Linked DNA regions of Homo sapiens: region 1 is linked to region 2. Evidence: promoter capture Hi-C in human tissues and cell types (Jung and others, 2019). All regions are on one chromosome and are shown on one strand. Each heading gives the region's core, a stretch centred on a gene start or on the middle of the fragment in contact. The rest is flanking DNA. Distances are from core to core; before and after follow the strand shown. Region 1 has its middle 43 kb from the start of LINC01427. Region 2 holds the start of CD93 (CD93 molecule).

Region 1 (3,250 bases), core at 720-3,219, 760 kb before region 2:
GAATTTCTTTGAGTAATATTTTCAAACAACAAATTCAAAATGTACCTAAGCATCTCCTCTATCTTGGCATCCCATTTACCAAGCGCAGTGACTCCCACAGCTGAGATGAAGCACAATCAACACAATCTTACATTACCAGGCTGCCCTAGGACAGAACATTTTCATCTTGTTAGGAATGTATTCGTTTATTGTTGTGCCTATAATAATTGTTAAAACTTTTTAACATTTGATTAGTTTTTTAAAAAATGCATTAAAGATGAGTCTAAAAAGTGTCAAAATGCTCATTATTTAGAACAATGAAAAAAAGTTTTGCCTTTCCTGTTTTAATTTGAAATTTCTTTTGCCTTCTTTGTTTTGGTGTGTGGATGAAGTAGCCTTATTTCTTATATTTCCAATTTGCATCTTGGGGTGGGAGTTGCTATCAGGCCAACATCTTCAAAGTGAAACAAAAAGAACGCAGGGAGCAGTTATGTCTTACATCGTACTCAAACAGGCCTTAGTTTTGCCAAGAACAAAAGCAGCTGTGGATTTGGAACAAGATTATGTTATGGGTGGCTGCACAGTCATGGATCTCTCATATGAGAATTGAGGGTGTGGAGCACATTTATGATTCAGAAAGGAGAAAGAAGGACTTGTGTGTTCAGGACCTTGGGGTAAGGTTAGAATAACACACTTTTCTATCTCAAGTTAACCAACTGGAAATTGGACTTCTCTTGAAGCTAGAGAATCCATCAGTCACCTGAATTAAAAAGAGGTGATTCTAAAGCTTTCATCAAGACCTGAAACCTTGATGCCCCAGAAATTGGTGCATTGGTCGGGTATGGCCTTAGTGGTGCTGTGGAGTGGATGGTGTTCGTTTGTGAGAGCACCCACTCCTAAGTAATAGTGATGGGGGCCCCTGTGTTCAACACCTTGCTCCTGCCTTTTCCCACATTTATTCAGCTCACAGACACATAAATCTCAAAGTCACCCACATCCACACTGGCACTTGTGCCCAGGCGAACATTGATAAAGTAGACTCTGCTTCATGGACTCTACCCACAGGGGGGAACTGGATGGAAGCATTAGGCAGATTATAATAAGCCTCACAAAATTTGGATTCATTGATTTTGTAACTTTGATGGCACCCAAATTTACCAAGTCTTGTCTGGATCCTTAGGATATCACACCAAGAAAGATTATTCCAAATAGGTCTACAGGTAATCAGTTATTCTCAAAGCCAGTTGTCTACAACTGAATTTCCCAAATCTGTCCTAGGAGGTTTGGTCAATGCCCAAGTTAATCAGATACCTTCATGTTCATCGGAGGCTAAGAGTTGCCTGTTAATATAATGCCTGAGTAAACAGGTGGTGTTAACTATCATAGTGATACTTTCCCCCTCCTTCATAAAACTTTAAAAGTCAGGCCATTTAGTATTACATTTATACAACATGTAAGGACAGACTGGAACAAATGGAATCTTGTCTAGTTGAGAAATATTAAGTTGTTCTCTATACCACCTTTCCACAAGCAAGTAAATCAATTCAAAGCATTCCATCCAAGAAACTGGAAGTCTCTTGATGTGCGTAGCTGTGATAGCAAGATTATAAATGGGAAAAATGAGGTATATATTTGAGAACAGTTCCCTTCTAACCCCTAGAATTCCTAAGATTATCACTCAGTGGTCAAGATGGTCATAGAAATATGGTTCTCATGGGGAAACCAGATGGCGGGAGCAGGGTTCCTGAAGAGACCATCATCACCGTTCCTAAGGAGTGCTCTTACAAACCAACAGCACCCACTCTACTCTCCACCCAGTTAATTCTGTCCATCTTTCAGTTTATTGCAAATCCCTCACCTCCATGCAGTTTCCCCTGATCCCTGCAGTGGGCCAGGCCTCCTGGTTACCTGCTCCCATGGCACCCTGCACTGCTCCTGGTAATACTTAGCAGAGGTGTGGTAAATCATTACTAGTGTAAGTTTATAAGCAAGGTGGGGATGGGGGTCTTGCCTGTATTATTTTCACACAATGTTTCTACATCATAGATTCTCAAAAAAAAATTGTTTAATAAAACTAATGGTGGATAAGTGAGTGAATGTGTGTGTGAACAAAAGTCACTTATATGTAAATGTCTGACAAGGAAGAGCTGAGTAAATGTATATTTTCATCTTTCCTCATATATCACAGTGTGGGGGACAACTAACCCCTCTACATGGATATTAGAAGCCAGGCTTGGTTGGCTGCTATGGAACATGCAAAGCCATGTGGCCCAGTGGAGTCTACAGAGAGGTTCATGCAACAACTTGCCCTTCAGTCAATTAACTTTTCTTTCAGAAAAAGTCCCAAATAAATTGGAAACACTTTGGAAATTTGCACTTGCTTCATATGAATAAAACAGAATGTGCAGTATTTTTCTATAAGAAACCCTTACCTGAGGTCAAAGGAATCTTAAATTATTTTTAAAAAATGAATTCTTTCTTGCAACAGGACTACATTTAAATCATGATAAATAAACTGAAAACATAAATAACTCCATTTCAAGGGAAGCCCTGTTCTACCCATTCTACCACCAGGCTGATTCTACTTATGCATGGACCAGATCCTTTCTTCTGCACATAATTACATCTCCACCCTGGCTTATCAAAGATGGAGACTGGCTGGTTGATGATTATGCCTACCTTGAAGATGTTCCTGGGCTTTATCTTTTTTTGTGGTTGTTCCATTCTGTTCTTAGAATTCTTTGATCTTATTGTATATTATATTATCTCCAGTATTAGGTCATATTGGGCCATAACATTGTCATTATTATTTTGAATTCTACTGAGATCTTGCAAAATTCATGAGTGCCTTAAATGTTCTATGCCTCTGTAAGCTTTTGATATAGTTCTATTGGTATTGTGATGGCAGTAACTGACTTGGCATTGATATTGGTATGTCAGGCGAGGTAGAAAGGGCACTAAATTGTGGACTAGGCTCCTGCTCTCAATTCCTACCTCCACCGTTATTGCCATGGAACCCTCAGCTCTCTGAGCTTCTATCTCTTCATACCTAAAATGAGGACACGGACTAGTCCTGAGGTTTCTAACCCTGGCAGCTCATTGAAATCACCTGTGTATGAATTACCCTGCAGGCTCCAGAGCCTACCCCGGGAGACTGGGTTCAGTTGGTCTGGGTGGGAACCAGATGGACTGGATGTGATTTGAGGGTACCTGCAGCTAAGAGCTCAAGAAATTTAGAAAGATGAGGATCTGGGTCAACTTTGTGGGTGAA
Region 2 (3,518 bases), core at 537-3,036:
GCGTGATGGATGCTGGGCTCCCTCCAGACGCCTGGGGACCCACTGGGGGCCAGCATCTTGAGTGGGGCAGATGTGATGGGGGCGTCAGATGACAGCGAAGGTCTACTTGTGGTGGGTGTAGCCTTGGGGGTGCCCTCGGGGCCCCTTGTGGGACTGGCTGTTGCAGCACGGGGCACGGTGCTCCCTTCTTTCTCTCCTTTGTCCTCCTCATCGGGGGGCCCAGATGGTGGTCCCAGAGACACAGGCCCCATGGTGCAAGAGACCCCATTTGGGGCCAGCACCCAGCCTGGCAGGCAGCCACAGTGGAAGGACCCTTGTGTGTTGAAGCACAAGCTGTCGCAGAGGGGGCCCCCCGGGCCCACACACTCATCCACGTCCTGGCACTGAGTCCCGTCCTCCCCGGCCAGGACGTAGCCCTCCTCACAGGAGCAGTGAAATGAGCCATCTGTGTTGGTGCAGCCCTGGGCGCAAGGCGAGCGACCCAGAGCACACTCATCCACATCCTGACAGGCCCCCTCTCCAGGACCGCCCGGCTCATAGCCAACCCAGCATTCGCAGCGGAAGCCCCCAGGGGTGTTGACACACTCCTGGGCACAGGGGGAGTCCTGGCATTCATCCACGTCCACACAGTCCAGCTGACTCGAGTCCAGCTGGTACCCTTGGGGGCAGCGGCACGTGTAGTTTTTCCCATGGGGTCCCAGGACGCACGTGGCCCCCCCACGACATGGGCTGGAGCTGCAAGGGTTTCGAGAGGCACAGGTCACCAGGTCATCCAGCAGCCGGAATCCTGGTCGGCAGCCGCAGAGGAAGGAGCCATCCCCCCCTTCAAAGCAGTCCTGGTGGCAGCCCCCATTGTTGAAGTTGCAGCCATACTTGGGGCTGACACAGAGGGGGCCCGAGCTGCCCCAGTCGAACACATCGGGGGCCTTCTCCTTGCACAGGAAATAATGACTCTGAGTCTCGTCCTTGTCACCTTCCCCACAGGCTACATTGGCCGCAGAGGCAAAGGGCACAGCCTCCAAGGAGGAACTGGTGGTCTGGAAGGGGGTGGTGTAGGTCACCTGACCTGGGCCCCCCAGGGCCAGAGGCCGGCACATGCCTTTGAAGCTGAACTTGCACACGAAGCCCTCAATGTTACTTCCGGGGGAGCCTGGGCTCCCACAGGGGCCCTCAGACCACTTGGGGAGGCGGCTGGGAAGGAGCGGCTGGGACAGGTCCAGCAGCAGAGACACACAGCGCTTGGAGATGCACGAGTTCCGGAGCTCCTTGTGCCAGTTAGAGTAAGGCGTGTCCTCCCCCCCGCCCACCCAGCTGAAGCCCTTCAGCGGCAGACTAGGGTCCAGGCACTTGCCCTTCTCTCGCTGGAGCCCAATCCAGAACTTGCTCATCCTCGCCGTCAGGGCTGCCTCCCGCCTCAGGAGCTGGGCCAGTACTCGCTGGACGTGCTGGGCCTCCTCCTTGCTCTTCACAGTGGCCAGGTTGCCCCCGTTCTGGTTGCAGTGGTTCTGGGCCTCGGCAGCGCTCAGCTTGCCCGAGTGGGCCGTGTAGCAGGCGGTCCCCACGCAGACCACCGCCTCCGTGTCAGCTCCCGTCCCCGCCCCGGGCTGGGTCAGGAGCAGCAGCAGCAGCAGCAGCAGGCCCATGGAGGTGGCCATCCCGGTCTCTGTGTGGCCCTCTGCGGGAGGCGAGAAGCCCAGCGGCGACAGGAGCTTCTATCTCGGCTCCCAGCTGGGCCCCAAGGGGAGCTGAGGGGTGAGCTGCAGCCACTCCGGCGCAGAGAAGGACACAAAGGCTGAGGGCTTTCCACGTCCCCCTGACCCAAGGCGCATCCTGTACTGTTGTACTTCTTATTTCTCACCGGATGTTGGGGCTTCCTGCAATGAATAGTTCTCTGACTCCTGCTGCCTTCATCACGGTGCTGTTGTTCATAAAAGGAGTCAGGCAGCTCTGCCGGGTCCCTGGCTCAGCACTGTGGAAACAGCGACGGGGGGAAGACGTTACAGCCCCGAGATACTGCCGGCTTGATTTTGGCTCCATTCTCTTTCTCATGGCATGAGGAGCCTCGGAGGCATGCCATGGAGTGAGCAGGGGCTTTGGGGGCTAGGAACTCGAGGAAGCTCCCTTAGTAACCCATAATAAAATTCCACTTTGGTTTGCAAACCACCAAAAGAGAAAAAAAAAATTCTGAGACTTAAGACACAAGGCCATGGATGGTTATAATTTTCAGCCTTTTTTAGAAGCAAACTGGACTTTCCTTTTGCCTAGCTCATGTTCTCTGTTGACTTTGGGAGCCTTTTTTCTTTTATCCTCCCATCGTGAACCTTAAATAGACAGGCATTTTTTAAATAGGATACGGGTCGTGGGAATGTCTGGGTTTTCAACATAATGCCAAGCTCCTCGATAATGTTAATCCAAATTGGGTGAAATTTGGCAGTTCTGGGGGTTTCATAGTGGAAATATTGCATTGTGAGGTGTCAGGGTCACAAAAAGCATCAGAAAGAAAATGAAAATGTGTCCGGCCTCGTGGCGCAGGGCTTGCAGGCTCACTTCCCCCGGCTCAGGATTCCTAGCAAGGGCCGGAAATCTGGGCAGGGAGCGGGAATCGAAGCCCGGGCAGGCCCTCCCGCGACACCGCGACTCGGCAAAAGCCAGGGACTCACAGTGTGCTTTTCCTGCAGCCACAGACCTTTGCTCATTGGTTGGGATCCCCCAGGAGGGGACCCTGAGACAGGATTTGGGGAGACTAGTTTATGTGGGAGGGGAAGTGAAACAGACAAGGAGGAAGCCAACCCATGATGACTTGCTGAGAAGGTGACCCTGGGCTGCTGGAGCCAGTGCCAGGAAACTCTGGGGGCCTGAGGGGACCACACCTCAGCACCATCTCAGCTGAGGGAGAGGCTCCACTGCTCTCCAAGTCCCCTGTCATTGGTAGCAGGCTGTATCTCTCACTTTGAGAGACTGACTATAAATTCTAGCCCTGCCCAGTGACCAGGGGTCTCTCTCACATAAAACTTGTTTCTATGGACAGACACCCTTGTGGCTCTCGTCTGACCCATGTCCAGTTTATTCCTATCAAGACAGCCACTTCCTAAGAGATCCCTGATGGGAGGAGAGTTGGGTTGGGGTGTGGGTCAGGGGAGATGCAGGAGGCAGCACAAGAAGACACAGGAAGCAACACAAGCACCGTGTCACTTACAGATCCCAGGGAGAGGGCAGTGCACCCCACGGGGCCAGCAAAAAGTGGGGAGCTGTCTGGGTCACAAACACTCACCTGGAGGGGGGTGAAGGGAGAGAGAGAGACCTGGGTCCTAAGCCTTTATTGGGGTCCAGGACGTTTCCCAAGCAGGTTTCCCAAGGGGACTTCTCACTGGTGGGTTTAGAGCAAACAGACACGGGCTCCGTGGGGTCCCTGTGGCTGAGAGGTGGGCATGGCGGCATGTCTGGGAAGTCCCTGTGGGGTGTGGAGTCACTGAGACCATCAAATGGGCTGTATCTGCCTGTCCCACAGGGAAATGGTC

What was found. The method cuts DNA at HindIII sites, captures the fragments that hold promoters and counts their contacts. A contact is called where the count stands out against the background at its distance.
Region 1: a contact is called between a fragment that was not itself captured here and the fragment with the promoter of CD93 in region 2, in 2 of the 25 tissues and cell types used here (heart right ventricle and thymus).

What each region holds. Positions count from the first base shown.
Region 1 is chr20:22,324,135-22,327,384 of GRCh38, forward strand. No RefSeq gene overlaps it. Among named protein-coding and RNA genes, the nearest start is that of LINC01427, 43 kb to the left of the region's middle. The HindIII fragment of the contact is 4,978 bases long and covers 1-3,250 here.
Region 2 is chr20:23,084,538-23,088,055 of GRCh38, forward strand. CD93 (CD93 molecule) reads right to left here and starts at 1,787. Exons shown (of 2, transcript NM_012072.4): 1 at 1-1,787. The coding sequence starts at 1,655. RefSeq lists enhancers at 1,771-1,950, 3,478-3,518. The HindIII fragment of the contact is 11,168 bases long and covers 1-3,518 here.